Linked DNA regions of Homo sapiens: region 2 is linked to region 1. The links are contacts of gene promoters, found by promoter capture Hi-C in human tissues and cell types (Jung and others, 2019). All regions are on one chromosome and are shown on one strand. Each heading gives the region's core, a stretch centred on a gene start or on the middle of the fragment in contact. The rest is flanking DNA. Distances are from core to core; before and after follow the strand shown. Region 1 holds the start of CA5A (carbonic anhydrase 5A). Region 2 has its middle 25 kb from the start of KLHDC4.

Region 1 (7,542 bases), core at 1,988-4,487:
CGTAACGTTGCTGATCACACACTTAGGAACAGATGGGCACTGCCAGTGCACACCCTGAAACATGACTAGAAAACATTAAATGATCCCTAAAATTATTTTTTCTTAGACAGGGTCCTGCTGTGTAGCCCAGGCTGGAGTGCAGTGGCCTGATCAGGGCTCACTGCAGCCTGAAATTCCTGGGGTCAGTGATCCTCCTGCCTCAGCCTCCCAAGTAGCTGGGATGATAGGTGTGTGCCACCATGTCCAGTTAATTTTTTAATTTTTTTTTTTTTTTAGAGATGGGTTCTTGCTATGTTGCCCAGGCTGATCTTGAACTCCTGTGCTTGAGCTGTCCTCCCACATCAGCCTCCCAAAACAGTGCTGGGATTACAGGTGTGAGCCCCCATGCCTGGTTCTAAAATTATCACTGAGCGTTTTGTAACTCTTTGACTTTTCTCTCAAGGCCAAACCACCAGTGATTTTTCAATAATTTTTAGTAACAATATTCTTTTTCCAAGTGAAATAATCTTCAGAATGCCCATAAATAAAACACCGACATAGAAGGATGAATTCCTTATGATGTTCCAATCTTCTCTGCTTGGCAGAATATTCTGCTCTTTGTGGAACTCTGAAATGATTTGGCAGAGCCCTCTGTTCACTGGGAACAGGTTGAGGACCATGGTGTAAATGGATTTAGGTGCCGATACAGAATATGACTCTCTCTAGCACACGATGTAAGAGGACATGTTGCCACAGTAAGAAATGGAATGCTACCTGCTGCCCACTGACAGGGAAATGCTTAAATAGACACAGGGCACCCACCGCTGCCTGTGTTAGCAACAGCAGCAGCTGGCGTCTAGCAAGGGCTTCCTGGAGCCATGTGCTGTCCCCAGCCTTTGCAGGCCCCACCTCGGACCCTTCTCCCAACGACACTGTGCCGTAAGCACCATTATCAACCCCCTGTTACAGACGACAAAACCAAGGCTGGGGGAAGTTAAGAAAGTCACAGAGGGGACAGCTGGGCGTGGTGGCTCACGCCTGCAATCCCAGCACTTTGGGAGGCTGAGGCGGGCAGATCACCTGAGGCTGGGAGTTCAAGACCACCCTGAGCAACATGGAGAATCCCTGTATCTACTAAAAATACAAAATTAGCCGGATGTGGTGGCGCATGCCTGTAATTCCAGCTACTCGGGAGGCTGAGGCAGGAGAATTGCTTGAACCTGGGAGGTGGGGGTTGCGGTGAGCTGGAGATCGCACCACTGCGCTCCAGCCTGGGCAACAAGACAGAAATTAGTCTCAAAAAATAAAGGAAAGTCACAGAGGGGCAACAGCCATAGAGCAGTGGGGCCAAGATTCCAATCTAGGCAGGCTAGCGCTCTTGACGGTCGTACTAAGAATAAAAAAGGGGGGTGGGTGCAGTGGCTCACGCCTGTAATCCCAGCACTTTAGGAGGCCGAGGCAGGTAGACCACCTGAGGTCGGGAGTTTGAGACCAGCCTGGCCAACATGGCGAAATCCTATCTCTACTAAAAATACAGAAATTAGTTGGGCGTGGTGGCACACGCCTGTAGTCCCAGCTACTTGGGAGGCTGAGTCAAGAGGATCGCTTGAACCCAGGAGGCAGAGGCTGCAGTGAGCCGAGATCGCACCACTGCACTCCAGTCCACAGGTGTGGACCCCAACAGGAGGAATGAGTGTAGCTCACTCAGAGTCTGGGGTGGGCCAGGCTTTCTACACGCATCGTGTCATCCTTCCATGGCCCTGGAGAGAAAGTCTGGCCACCCCCATCTCGAGATAAGGACACAGAGGCTTGGGGGTGAAGACCTGCCGAGGCTCCACCTCAGCAAGCGTCAGTCGGACTGCATGCCTGGGGTCTGGCTCCTAAGCCCATGCTCTTTCAATGGCCCAAACATGGAATGCATGGAAGATTTCAGTTAGAAGAGAACTTGGCAGCTGCCAAAGCAGGCTCTCATTCTACGGAGGAAGCACCTGAGACCCAGAAAGAGGAAGGGCCTCGTTCAAGGTCACAAGGCACTGACCATGAAGCCAGGAGGGGCTGGCACGGGGCAGTTTCTTGGCAGAGCTGGCTGAGTGGTTTATTTGTTACAGGTTTGCTTGAAAGCGTTCTCTGCCGAAGAGTTTAGGAGCGATCGTGACTGGTTAGTGCAGCCCATTCCGCCGGGTCTGGATGGTGAGTCGTGCCAGTGTGTCCCGTGCGAACACGGACTACCCGCCTGCTCCCAGCATCTTGCCCTCCCCAGGACCCCTGAAACGGAGGCTAAATGATTCACCCAAGGTCACCAAATACAAGAGAAACGGAGTGTGGCCAGGCGCGGTGGCTCACGCCTGTAATCCTAGCACTTTGGGAGGCCAAGGTGGGTGGATCACCTGAGGTCAGGAGTTCGAGACCAGCCTGGCCAACATGGTGAAACCCCATCTCTACCAAAATACAAAAAATTAGCTGGGTGCAGTGGCGGGTGCCTGTAGTCCCAGTTACTTTGGAGGCTGAGGCAGGAGAATCACTTGAACCTGGAGGGCAGAGGTTGCAGTGAGCCGAGATCATGCCATTGCACTCTAGCCTGGGCAAAAGAGCAAAACTTCATCAAAAAAAGAAAAAAGAGGGCCGGGCGCCGTGGCTGATGCCTGCAATCCCAGCACTTTGGGAGGCTGAGACAGGCGGATCGCGAGGTTAGGAGTTCGAGACCAACCTGGCTAACACAGTGAAACCCTGTCTCTACTAAAAATACGAAAAATTAGCCAGGAGTGGTGGCATGCACCTATAGTCCCAGCTACTCAGGAAGCTGAGGCAGGAGAATCGCTTGAACCCGGGAAGTGGAGGTTGTGGTGAGCTGAGATCACGCCACTGTACTCCAGCCTGGGCCACAGAGCGAGACGCCATCTTAAAAAAAAAAAAAAAAAAACGGAGTGGAAATCTGAACCCATCTGGCTCGGGACGGTCTCTCCTCTCTCCTCTCGAAAGACCCCATCAGCTAAGACAAGGATCCAGTCGCATCTTAGGAAATTTGAGGCTCTACTTACAAGTGTTATTGCTGGTTTGCCATGCACAGGAACGCTGAGAACACCATCGCCCTGGCCTCATCGAACGACTCCAGAGAGGGGCCCACATCTGCTCAACCAAGAAGGAGAAAGCTGAGGTCTTCCAAGTGTTCCTCCCCAACATCTTGGGTCTGTTCCCACTGACTCCAGTCTGAAGAGGGTGATGTTCCCTGCTGTCTGTTCTCACTTTGATCAGGACCACTGTGGACTGGCGTGTACCCACCTCTTTTTGTAGAAACTCATCCCAACCCCTGAGCCTAATGGTTAAAGTTCAACCCATGCCTTTCCCAACAGGGTGGGTCCACAGGGATTAGTGGCCTCTGCTGGGGACAGGCCACTCAGGTCACTGGGCTTTGATCTGGCAAACAGGAGCACAAGTCTGCCAGGGAGCTAGAAAAACTGTACGGTGGGGCTGCGTGAGCACCAGGGGATTACGCGGGAGGCGGGGGCGAGTGGATGAGAGCAGAGTCCCTGTTTCTTTCATGGGGTTGACCGTGTGGTTTGGGGCTCCGGGACACTCAATACCAGGCACAAAGCCATGGTGTGCATGTGAGGAGGGACTGGCAGGCAGGCTCAGAAGTACAGGAATGGGACTGGCCAAAGCGCTGCTGGGTAGACAGGCCAGGGGAGCAGGGAGCTTCTGTCCACCCACCAGGGCTCCTGAAGTCATGGAGTCCTTGCTTGCCTTAAAATAGGTGCGATTTGATTCATTCATCCTCCCCGGAAGCAAGATGCCCTGTGGCTTCGGACACTTCCAGGTCATGCCTGCTGTCTTGGCATAAACATTAACAGGGCCACCTTTCTTTCTTTCCTTTTCTTTTTTTTTTTAGACAGAGTTTCACTTCTGTTGCCCAGGCTAGAGTGCAATGGCGTGATCTCGGCTCACTGCTACCTCTGCCTCCCAGGTTCAAGCAATTCTCCTGCCTCAGCCTCCTGAGTAGCTGGGATTACAGGCGCCCACCACCATGCCCAGCTAATTTTTTGTATTTTTAGTAGAGATGGGGTTTCACCACGTTGGCCAGGCTGGTGTTGAACTCCTGACCTCAGGTGATCTGCCTGCCTCGGCCTCCCAAAGTGCTGGGATTACAAGTGTGAGCCACTACGCCCAGCCTCTTTTCTTCGTTTCTTTTCTTTTCTTTCTTTCTTTTTTTGAGATGGAGTCTCGCTCTGTTGCCCAGGCTGGAGTGCAATGGCGTGATCCTGCCTCACTGCAACCTTTGCCTCCCAGGTTTAAGCAATTCTCCTGTCTCAGCCTCCTGAGTAGCTGGGATTATAGGCACACACCACCACAACGGCCAATTTTTTGTATTTTTAGTAGAGACGGGGTTTCACTGTGTTCCCCAAGCTGGTCTCGAACTCCTGAGCTCAGGCAATCCACCCACCTCGGCCTCCTAAAGTGCTAGGATTACAGGCATGAGCCACTGCGTCCAGCCTCTTTTCTTTTCTTTCTTTCTTTCTTTCTTTCTTTCTTTCTTTTTTTTTTTTTTTTTGAGGTGAGGTCTTGCTCTGTCACCCAAGGTGGAGTGCGGTGGTGCCATCATGGCTCACTGCAGTCTCAATCACCCAGGCTCAAGTGATCCTCCCTCCTCAGCCTCCCAAGTAGCTGGGACTATAGGTGCATGCCATTATGTCCAGCTAATTTTAAAAATTATTTGTAGAGGCAGGTTCTCGCCATGTTGCCCAGGCTGGTCTTGAACTCCTGGGCTCAAGCAATCCTCCCAGAGTGGCCTCCCAAAGTGCTCGGATTACAGGCATGAGCCACTGCCCCTGGCCTGGTACCTCCCTTCATGCCCAGGGTCCACATGGGTATGTTAGCTGGTCACTCTAGCCAGGCAGCTGGTGATATTTGCAGACGCCAACCCACAAAGAACCTTCCTTTGGGTCCTTTGAGCGGCACAGCAGTTTATTCACCCAGACACCTTTTACCTGTGAAATGGAACCCATGGGATTGGGATGCACCAGTTTGTGACTTCTTGTTGTTGTTTAAACTTACAATCTTTTAGGGGGCAGGGCTATCATAACTTTTCATAGAATCCTGGAATCTTAGATCTAGAAAACCCTACAGAACACAGGTGTTGAAATGCGAGTCCACTTGTAGGCTCCTGAAAGCCCAAGAATCCCACTGAAATCCCCCACACAATGGATAGGGTCTGCGGCTTTCGGCCACTGCTCTGGTGGGCCCAAGAGTTTGCTTGCATTTGTTTTGAGCAACAAAAACCAAGTCTGGATGATATGTTCTCTCCTTCCCACACAGTCATGGTGGAAATGCACCCACTCTTGGGAAGTCTGATTCATTGTCATTCATTCATTGACCCACTCACTCATTCATTGACTCACTCACTCACTCATTGACTCACTCACTCATTCACTCACTCACTCATTCATTCACTCACTCATTCATTCTCTCACTCAGTCAATCATTCATTCACTCATTCATTCATTCATTCACTCACTCATTCACTCACTTATTCATTCACTCACTCATTCACTCATTCACTCATTCATTCACTCATTCACTCATTCATTCATTCACTCATTAATTCATTGGCTTTTGCCTCCATTTCCTCATCTGTAAAGTAGGGAAGATTCTAGGATTCCATCATACACGATAACACTCTGTCGAGCTGTTGTTGACACAAGTGATGTCCTTAGAGCGGCACTTTCATTGCTGCAGGCCAAGCTCCCACCCCAGGCATTGCCAGCCCCATGTGAGCAGGGGCATCTCCTGAGTACACTCACCTGGGCAGCCGATGATGCCCCACAGGCTCCTGGGGCATGTCCTCTGCCATCCTCAGCCGTCCTGCCCTCTTCAGCCTGCCCAGTTTAGGTTGACTGCGTTGCAGCAGTACCCGTGGGCTGGGGGTCTCCCTGTCTTCCTCATCTCCCTGCTGCCCCATGGCAGGACTCTGCTTTACTTACAAAATATCACCAGCCCCAGTGTATTAATCAGGGTTCTCCAGAGAGACAGAACCAATGGGATAGACAAACAGATAGATAGATTAGAGAAAGAGAGAGAGAAAGAGATGATAGATAGATAGATAGATGATAGATTAGAGAGAGATGATAGCTAGATAGGTAGACAGATGACAGACAATAGATAGGTAGATAGATAGGTAGATAGATGGTAGATAATGGATAGATGAAGAAAGATGATTGGTAGGTAGATAGATGGTAGGTAGATGAGAGCTAGATGATAGATGACAGGTAGACATGTTACCAGATGGAAAGTCTTAACTTCGAGTTGTCCAGGTTCTTGGTGTGTTAAAGAATTGAGCAAAACACACAAACAAAGCAAGAAAAGAACAAGCAAGTGGCTCAAGAACCCTGATTACCATGTTCTTCAGGGTTTTTATTAAGCTAAAAGAATTTGGTAACACCCCCAGGTGCCCTTTAGAGGGCTCCAATTGGTTACATCCTATGAAGGATTGGCCCCTGACCAATCAGAGGCAGAAGTGGAGGCTTCTGTTCTGTTACCGCAGTAGTGAGACTGTGGCCCGTGTGCCGCCCAATCTTGCCTGGAACCGGCTGCTCCTGCTGCTCTTTTGCTTCTGCCTTAAACCTGGGTTACCCTCATTCCCTATTCTCCCGCCTCAGGTAGGTGATAGATAGAAATAAAGAGATAAATGATAGGTAGATCGATAGATAGATAGATAGATAGATAGATAGATGAATGAGAGGACATTAATTAGGGGAATTGGCCCATATGACTATGGAGGCTGAGAAGTTCCAGGACAGGCCACTGCAAGCTGGAGACCCTGGGGTGCTGGTAGCATGGCTCAGTCCAAGTCCGAAGGCCTCAGAACCAGGGAAGCTGAGGGTGTAACTCTCAGTCCAAGGCCAAAGGCCTGAGAACCCTGGGGCAGAGGGTGGCATTGGTGTAAGTCCTGGAGTCCCATGGCCGGGGAGCTGGGCGTTGTCCAAGGGAAGGAGAGGAAGCGCACGCCCCAGTCCGGCAGATGGACAGACACATTCACCTTTTCTCTGTTTTTGTTCTCTCTGGGTCCCAGCAGATTGGATGGTGCCACCCACATCCAGGTGGAACAGGAATTAAAACAAATTAAAGAATATGTAAGCAGAAACTCAGTTGTATGTAAGAAAACCCAATTCCCCCTGAGAAAGAGAAAGTGCTGAAGTCCTTTAAAATTAACTGCCTGTTTTTCTGTGGCTAGTGAGCCTTCTCTCTCCCTTTCCCAGGCATTGCGAAGACCCTGTTTCTCTAGCCGTGCAGCTGCAAGGTCATAAACAGATAAACTCAAGTCGCAACGCATGTTTTTCCTTGAAAAGTAAGAAATGATGTAACGCATGTCTCAATTAATTGAATAACTGTCTTTGTTTCTCGCTTCTGCAACGTGCTTCCCCCTACACAGATCTCCCTCCACCCCACGAAATGCTTAAAAGGTAACTTAAGCTCTTTGTTCAGGGCTCAGTCCTTTGGATGTTAATCCGACTGGGCCGGTGCACCTAAATAATAAATATCTTTTTTTTTTTTTTTTTTTTTTTTTTTTTG
Region 2 (7,542 bases), core at 1,390-3,889, 150 kb before region 1:
AGGATGTAGACCCCAGCCTCTTTAAACATAACCAGAGTCCCCTTGCACTCACCCACTAATGCAGAGAAAACCACTCTGTCAGTGATAATCCTATTACATGTGAATGTAAATAAATTATTTTTTTAATGAAAAGCAACTATGTTTCTAAAACCACAACATATTTAGTAAGAAGGATGGCTTGTTTTATGTTTTTGCAAATAGAAGACAATTGGATTTTTATTTTATGTATGTATTTATTTATTTAGAGACAGGGTCTCACTCTGTCACCCAGGCTGCAGTGCAGTGGCGTGATCATGGCTCACCACAGCCTTAACTTGCCTGGCTCAGGTAATTCTCCCACCTCAGCCTCCCAAGTGGCTGGGACTATAGGTGTGCACCACCACACCTGGCTAATTTTTGTATTTTTTTTGTAGAGATGGAGTTTCACCGTGTTGCCCAAGCTGGTCTCAAACTCCTGGGCTCAATAAATCTGCCTTCCTCGGCCTCCAGAAGATCTGGGATTATAAGCATGAGCCACTGAGCCTGGCCCAGATTTTGTTTTCTGTTTTGGGATAGAGTCTTATTCTGTCACCCAGGCTGCAGTGCAGTGGCACAATCTCAGCTCACTGCAACCTTCACCTCCTGGGTTCATGCAATTCTCCTGCCTCAGCCTCTGGAGTAGCAGGGATTACAGGCATGTGCCACCATGCCCAGCTAATTTTTGCATTTTTAGTAGAGACAGGGTTTCACCATGTTGGCCAGGCTGGTCTTGAACTCCTGACCTGAAGTGATCCACTCGCCTTGGCCTCTCAAAGTGCTGGGATGACAGGTGTGAGCAATCACGCCTGGCCTGTATTTTCAGTAGAGACAGGTTTTCACCATGTTGGCCAGGCTGGTCTCAAACTCCTGACTTCAGGTGACCCACCTGCCTTGGCATCCCAAAGTGCTGGGATGACAGGTGTGAGCCACCATGCCAGGCCAGTGGCCCAGAGTTTATATCTGGTTCTGCATTCTATCTCCTGGCTGCATCATGTCATATGGCCTCTGGAAAACTTCACTGAACACTCATGAAAGAATCCCTGGACTTTTTGTTTTGCTATGTTGTCATGCTCTCTGCTTTTTTGTGGGGATTTGGAATGTTCAAAAACTATGCTGCCACTGCCATCTTCCCAGATCTTCATAAGATTGCTGATAAGGGAAAGGGGTAAGAAATAGAAGGTAGGCCATGTGTGGTGGCTCACACCTGTAATCCCAACACTTCGGGAGGCCGAGGCAGGTGGATCAGTTGAGCACAGGAGTTTCAGACCAGCCTGGACAACATGGTGAAACCCTGTCTCTTCAAAAAATCCAAAAATTAGCTGGGCATGCTAGCACACACCTGTAGCCCCAGCTACTCTGAAGGCTGACATAGGAGGATCTCTTGAGCCAGGGAGATCAAGGCTGCAGTGAGTGGTAACCACTCCAGCCTGGGTGACAGAGTGAGATCCTGTCTCAAAAAAAAAATTAAAAAGAAAGAAATAGAAGGTGAAGCTGCAATGTTCTCTCTCAGCATGTCTATTTAACATTGTACCAGAAGGCTTAGCACAAAAGGCAGGAAAAAGAAATAAAAGGTTTAAGGTTTAGAAAATGTAGAAAATTTAAAGAATGTACGGATAATCTATTAGAATCCATAAGTAAATTTATCTAGGTTGCTGGATACAAGATCAACATACAAAAACTAGTTGTTTTTCTATATATCAGCAGCAAACAAAACAAAGCTAAAATCTTAAAAGTTACCATTTATAAAGTCACCATTTATAAAAAACATCAGATACTTAAGAATAAATCAAACAGGCCAGGTGCAGTGGCTCACACCTGCAATCCCAGCACTTTGGGAAGCCAAGGCAGGTGGATCACTTGAGGTTAGGAGTTTGAGACCAGCCTGCCCAACATGGTGAATCCCTGTCTTGACTAAAAATACAAAAATTAGCCGGGCATGTTAGCATGCACCTGTAATCCCAGATACTCGGGAGGCTGAGGCACCAGAATCGCTAGAGCCTGGGAGGTGGAGGTGTCAGTGAGCCAAGATCACGCCACTGCACTCCAGCATGGGTGACAGAATGAGACTTCAATTCAAACAAAACCAAAACCAAAACAAACAAACGAAGAATAAATCAAACAAAGAATTTGCAAGACCTCTACACTGAAAACTACAAAATATTGTTGAGAGAAATGTAAGGAGACCAAAAAATAATGGCAGGGCTCTTTTAGTAACTGAGACAAGACTAAATATTAGAAAGATGTCAGTTCTCCTCAAACTGACCTACAGATTCAACACCAATTTTTTTTTCTTTTCCTTTTTTTTTTTTTTTTTTTTTTTTTTGAGACAGGGTCTCACTCTGTTGCCCAGGCTGGAGTCCAGTGGCTTGATCTCACCTCACTGCAACCTCCGCCTCTCGGGTTCAAGCGATTCTCCTGCCTCAGCTTCCTGAGTAGCTGGGATTACAGGCGTGAGCCACCACACCTGGCTAATTTTGTATTTTTAGTAGAGACAGGGTTTCGCCATGTTGGTCAGGCTGGTCTTGAATTCCTGACCTCAGGTAATCCACCTGCCTTGGCCTCCCAAAGCACTGGGATTACAGAAATGAGCCCTGGAGCCTGGCTGCTTTGGGTGTTCTCGAGACTCTACACTCTCCTCCCGTACACCACAGCAAACAGCTCGGACCCCCTGACAGCTCCTGGCCTTCCCCAGCTGAGTGGAAGGCTTCTCCAGGGCTTACTTCAGTTCTTCGTGGATTTTGCCCAGTCGCCCGGAGGCTGCAGTTCCACCAGGCAAAGCCAAACATGCTTGTTTGTTCTATTAAGAAATGGCTGGTTAATCTTTGGACCTAAGTGCAATGTTGGACGTGGCTGACGTTCATTGCTTGAGGAGGTATGTGTTATTGAAATGACCCAGAAGGCTGCATTTGGCAGTTTCCCTTACTTCTGACCCAAGCCTCATGCAGGGCTGTGTGGGTGCTGCCTGCAGCCTTTTGCAAAAGATGGAAAAATGGCAGGAGGCACGAAAGACCACCAGGAAAGCCGAGCGAGCTCCTCAGGCTTGTTCCATCAGGTCTGGGAAGTCAGTAAGCCATGGGAATGAGATCCCAGCAATTCTTGGGTCCTTCCAGCTGTTTCATTCCTTGGGAATTAACACATAGGACCCTGAGGGTTCTAACGCACAAGGGCAGGGAAGGGGGCCAGGCCATGCCCGCGAGCTTGCCAGGTCATTGTCCTGGGTCACGGGGTGGAGGAACCTGCTCTGTGCACGCAAGGCACGAGCTGACTTGCAGGGCCGCTGAGTCACGGGAGAGTCAGGAGTCAGTCCAGTGTAGACTGCGTGCTAGAGTGGTTTAACAAGGATGCCAAGTGCATTGTTCAAAACATGGCTCCCCTGTCTGCCGTGAGTCGTCTTGAGGCGGGGCTCCTGTAATAACCTTCCCCCAAGGCCTCTCCTCTGCAGCACCCCGCTGGACACCTGAGGTCCTCTCCCTGTACAAAGAAAACCCAAACCCACTGCTTCTCTTTGGCCATTAGCTTTTGGCCTCTTCAAGCTGCTCTTTGGGGTCTTCACGGTCTCTGGTGGGATTCTCTCTGCGAATTAGGTTTGCATTAAGTTTTCTATCTTTATTACGCAGAGAAGACTGGCTTCACGGGCTTTCCCCCTACTTGGCTAGCAGACACATCTTTTCAGCCCTAGGCAAAAGAATCCCGTGCTCGAATTATCCAGAGATAATGTACGTTTGCTGTAATTAACAACCCACCAGAGCCCTGGGGCGCTCCCTACAGACATGGGTCTGGTGTGGCAAATGTGCAAGGGAACTGGCTCTGCCCGGCCCTCCCAGGCAGCTCTCCCATTTGTCTCAGTATCATCGCCTTCCCAGCTCCCTGGGGCTCCCCCTCCCAGAGAGGAGCAGCCCAGGCCTGACTGCCAAGACACAGGGCATCATTTACCCACTATGGTTAGAAAGCTTGCCCAAGCAATGGCACCAAGCCAATAAATATTATTCTCTGCTATCAACAGCCAAGGCCACACTCTGATTTGTTAGTGGTGGGTTAAATAAACAAGACTTCTGGCTGGGCGCGGTGGCTCATGCCTGTGATCCCAGCACTTTGGGAGTGGATCACAAGGCCAGGAGATCGAGACCATCCTGGCTAACACAGTGAAACCCCATCTCTACTAAAAAAAAATACAAAAAATTAGCCGCTCGTGGTGGCATGCCACTCTGTAGACCCAGCTACTCGGGAGGCTGAAGCAGGAGAATAGTTTGAACCCAAGAGGCGGAGGCTACGGTGAGCCAAGATCGCCCCACTGCACTCCAGCCTCGGCGACAGAGTGAGACACCAACTCAATAAATAAAAAATAAAATAAACAAGACTTCCAGACCACGGGTGGAGAAGATCCAGCCAGGGAGCTGGGCACAACTCCCCGTTTCACTGTGCGGTTTCATTTCAGTTGGAAAGAACTTCATCTGTTGAAGTGCACAGACAGCATTCAGAGGCTAGAGACGCCGGCATCGGCACAGCACACAGTGCCCTCTGTTCCCCTGGCCCAGGCCAAGAGCTCTTTGTGTGTCTGAGTGACTGGTCAGCACTGGGCAACAAACCCACGCCGGGAGACGGACAGCGAGCCGCCTCAACCCACCAGCCTCTGGGGAGCCTCTCATCTCGCAAGCACCTGCGGAGGCCCGCCCGGCGCCAGACCAGTCCAGGCACCCAGAGGCCTCTGCTCTCCTGGAGCTCATGACAAGTAAACAAATACACAAGATGGTTTGGGATCCCGATGAATAAGTTAAGCAGGGCAACCCAACAGGGAGGACAGGGCTCCCGCATGTGACGGACCCAGGAGGGAGCGACCCCCCGTGTTGACATGGGGGGAAAGGCGGGAAGTCAGAGAGGCCGGGAGGTCAGAGAGGCCAGGAGGTCAGAGAGGCCAGGCCCCTTCACACGGGGTGGGCGGGGGGGGGGGGGATTTGCTCCCTCTGGAGGCCAAAGAGGAGGGTCCTTTCCACCTCTTCCAGCTTCTGGGGGCGGCTGGCTTCCTGGGCTTGTGGCGTGTCTGTCACTCCAGTCTCTGCCTCTGCCTTCACGTGGCCTCAGTGCATGTCCTCACATGGCCTTCTTATAAAGATACCTGTCATCGCATTTAGGACCCACCCTAATCCAGCACGACCTCATCTTAACTAATGGCACATGCAAAGACCCTGATTCCAAATCCGGTTATGTTCTGGGGATCCGGTGAACACAAATTTCGGTGCTTTGCTCAGTTTCTATGGAGTCTTGTGTATAGGAAGGGACAGGAGAAGAACCAAATTCTCATCTGAGGCAGATTTTTATTCCTCATTGCAAAATTTAAACATGAAACCAATTAAAACCTTTTTGGGGAGGCCTCTGCTCAATCAGTCAACCAAGGACTATTTACCAAGCAGCTGGTCTTGGGCTCAGCTCTGCAGTCAGCACTGTGGTACCTGACACGGATTGGCAGCTTGCTCTCAGAACATTTCCAGGCTAACCAAGAGGACGAGCACAACGAGCTATTTTTCAAGGAATAGATCAGTTAAGATATAACCCACCTACCGTACGATTTGCCCATTTAGAGTGCGCAATTCAGTGGCCGTTAGTACAATGACAGAGTTATGCAGCTATTACCCCAATCAATATTAAAACATTCTCTTTTCTTTTTTTTTTTTTTTCAGATGGAGTCTCACTCTGTCGCCCAGGCTGGAGTACAGTGACACGATCTCAGCTCACTGCAACCTCTGCCTCCTGGGTTCAAGTGATTCTCCTGCCTCAGCCTCCTGAGTAGCTGGGATTACAGGTGCGTGCCATCACGCCCGGCTAATTTTTGTATTTTTAGTAGAGACAGGGTTTCACCATGTTGGGCAGGCTGGTCTCAAACTCCAGACTTCGGGTGATCCGCCTGCCTAGGCCTCCCAATGCTGGGATTACGGGCGTGAGCCACCACGCCCGGCCAAACGTTTTCTTTTTACTTTTTTTTTTTTTTTTTTTTAGGACAGGGTCTGGCTTTTTTTTTTTGAGATGCAGCCACAAGGCCAGGCTGGAGTGCAGCGGTGCAATCTTGGCTCACTGAAACCTCTGCCTCCCGGGCTCAGGTGATCCTCCCACCTCAGCCTCCTGAGTAGCTCAGGCCACAGACACATGCCACCGTGCACAGCTGATTTTATTATTATTTATGTATTTATTTATTTAATTGAGATGGGGGTCTTGCTATGTTGCCCAGGCTGGTCTTGAACTCCTGAGCTCAAGCAATCCACCCGCCTCAGCCTCCCAAAGTGCTGGGATGACAGGCGTGAGCCATGTCACCTGCCCCAGTTAACTTTTGTGTATATTTGGTAGAGATGAGGTTTTACCATGGTGCCTACACTGGTCTTGGGCTGAGCTCAAGCAATCCACCCACCTCGGCTTCCCAAAGTACAGAGGTGAGGCACCATGCCCAGCATAACTTTTCCTTTTTTAATTTATTGAAAATACATAGGACTGTATAAAGCCAAAATTACCACATCACCCTGGGGTTTGTAATGTATGTAGGTGCAATATGCAAGACAACAGCAGCATGAAGCATGGGGGGTTGGGTAAATATGGTCACAAGGCTTCTATGTTTTATGTGACGTTTATATTTCTAATACTAACTCTGGGCTGGGCGCGGTGGCTCACGCCTGTAATCCCAGCACTTTGGGAGGTGGATCACCTGGGGTCGAGAGTTCGAGACCAACCTGACCAACATGGAGAAACCCCGTCTCTACTAAAAATACAAAATTAGCCAGGTACGGTGGTAGATGCCTGTAATCCCAGCTATTTGGGAAGCTGAGGCAGGAGGATCGCTTGAACCCAGGAGGTGGAGATTGTGATGAGCCGAGATCGCGCCACTGCACTCCAGCCTGGGCAACAAGAGCGAGACTCCATCTCAAACAAACAAAAAACAAAACAAAACAAAACAAAACACTCTGAGTAGACTGTGAAAAACTAAGGGTAGATGTTGCAATCCCTAGAGCAAGGAGAAGGAATAGCTAAAAAGCCATAGTTCTTGCTTCATAATGCTAATACTTGGGGTGGGCATGGTGACTCATGCCTGTAATCCCGGCATTTTGAGAGGCCGAGGCAGGTGGATGACTTGAGTTCAGGAATTTGAGACCAGCCGGGCATGGTGGCGCATGCTTGTAATCCCAGCTACTCAGGAGGCTGAGACAGAAGAATCGTTTGAACCTGGGAGGCGGAGGTTGCCGTGAGCTGAGATTGTGAATTGCACTCCAGCCTGGGCAACAGAGCAAGACTCCGTCTCAAAAAAAAAAAAAAGCTAATACTCAGAATAGAAATTCCAACTTGACCACTTAGTGGTGTGATCAGAGGCGGGTCTCTCAGCCTCTCTGAACTTCATCTGTCCTGGGAATTGAACAATCTAAGCTGTTTATCCCCCAGGGTGTCCCAGAGGATGAAATGAGGCAATATCAACTGTGCACTGTGTTTTGTAACCTGAGAAGCATTGTTAGCCTGCAAAGGGTCCCTTCCATTTGACAGGATTCTCCT

The links. Contacts are between HindIII fragments. The study calls those that stand out against the background at their distance.
Region 2: a contact is called between a fragment that was not itself captured here and the fragment with the promoter of CA5A in region 1, in 3 of the 25 tissues and cell types used here (dorsolateral prefrontal cortex, lymphoblastoid cells and spleen).

Annotation. Positions count from the first base shown.
Region 1 is chr16:87,933,292-87,940,833 of GRCh38, forward strand. CA5A (carbonic anhydrase 5A) reads right to left here and starts at 3,238. Exons shown (of 7, transcript NM_001739.2): 1 at 3,018-3,238. The coding sequence starts at 3,159. The HindIII fragment of the contact is 20,256 bases long and covers 1-7,542 here.
Region 2 is chr16:87,786,903-87,794,444 of GRCh38, forward strand. No RefSeq gene overlaps it. Among named protein-coding and RNA genes, the nearest start is that of KLHDC4, 25 kb to the left of the region's middle. RefSeq lists enhancers at 2,729-3,230, 3,048-4,247. The HindIII fragment of the contact is 6,509 bases long and covers 1-5,894 here.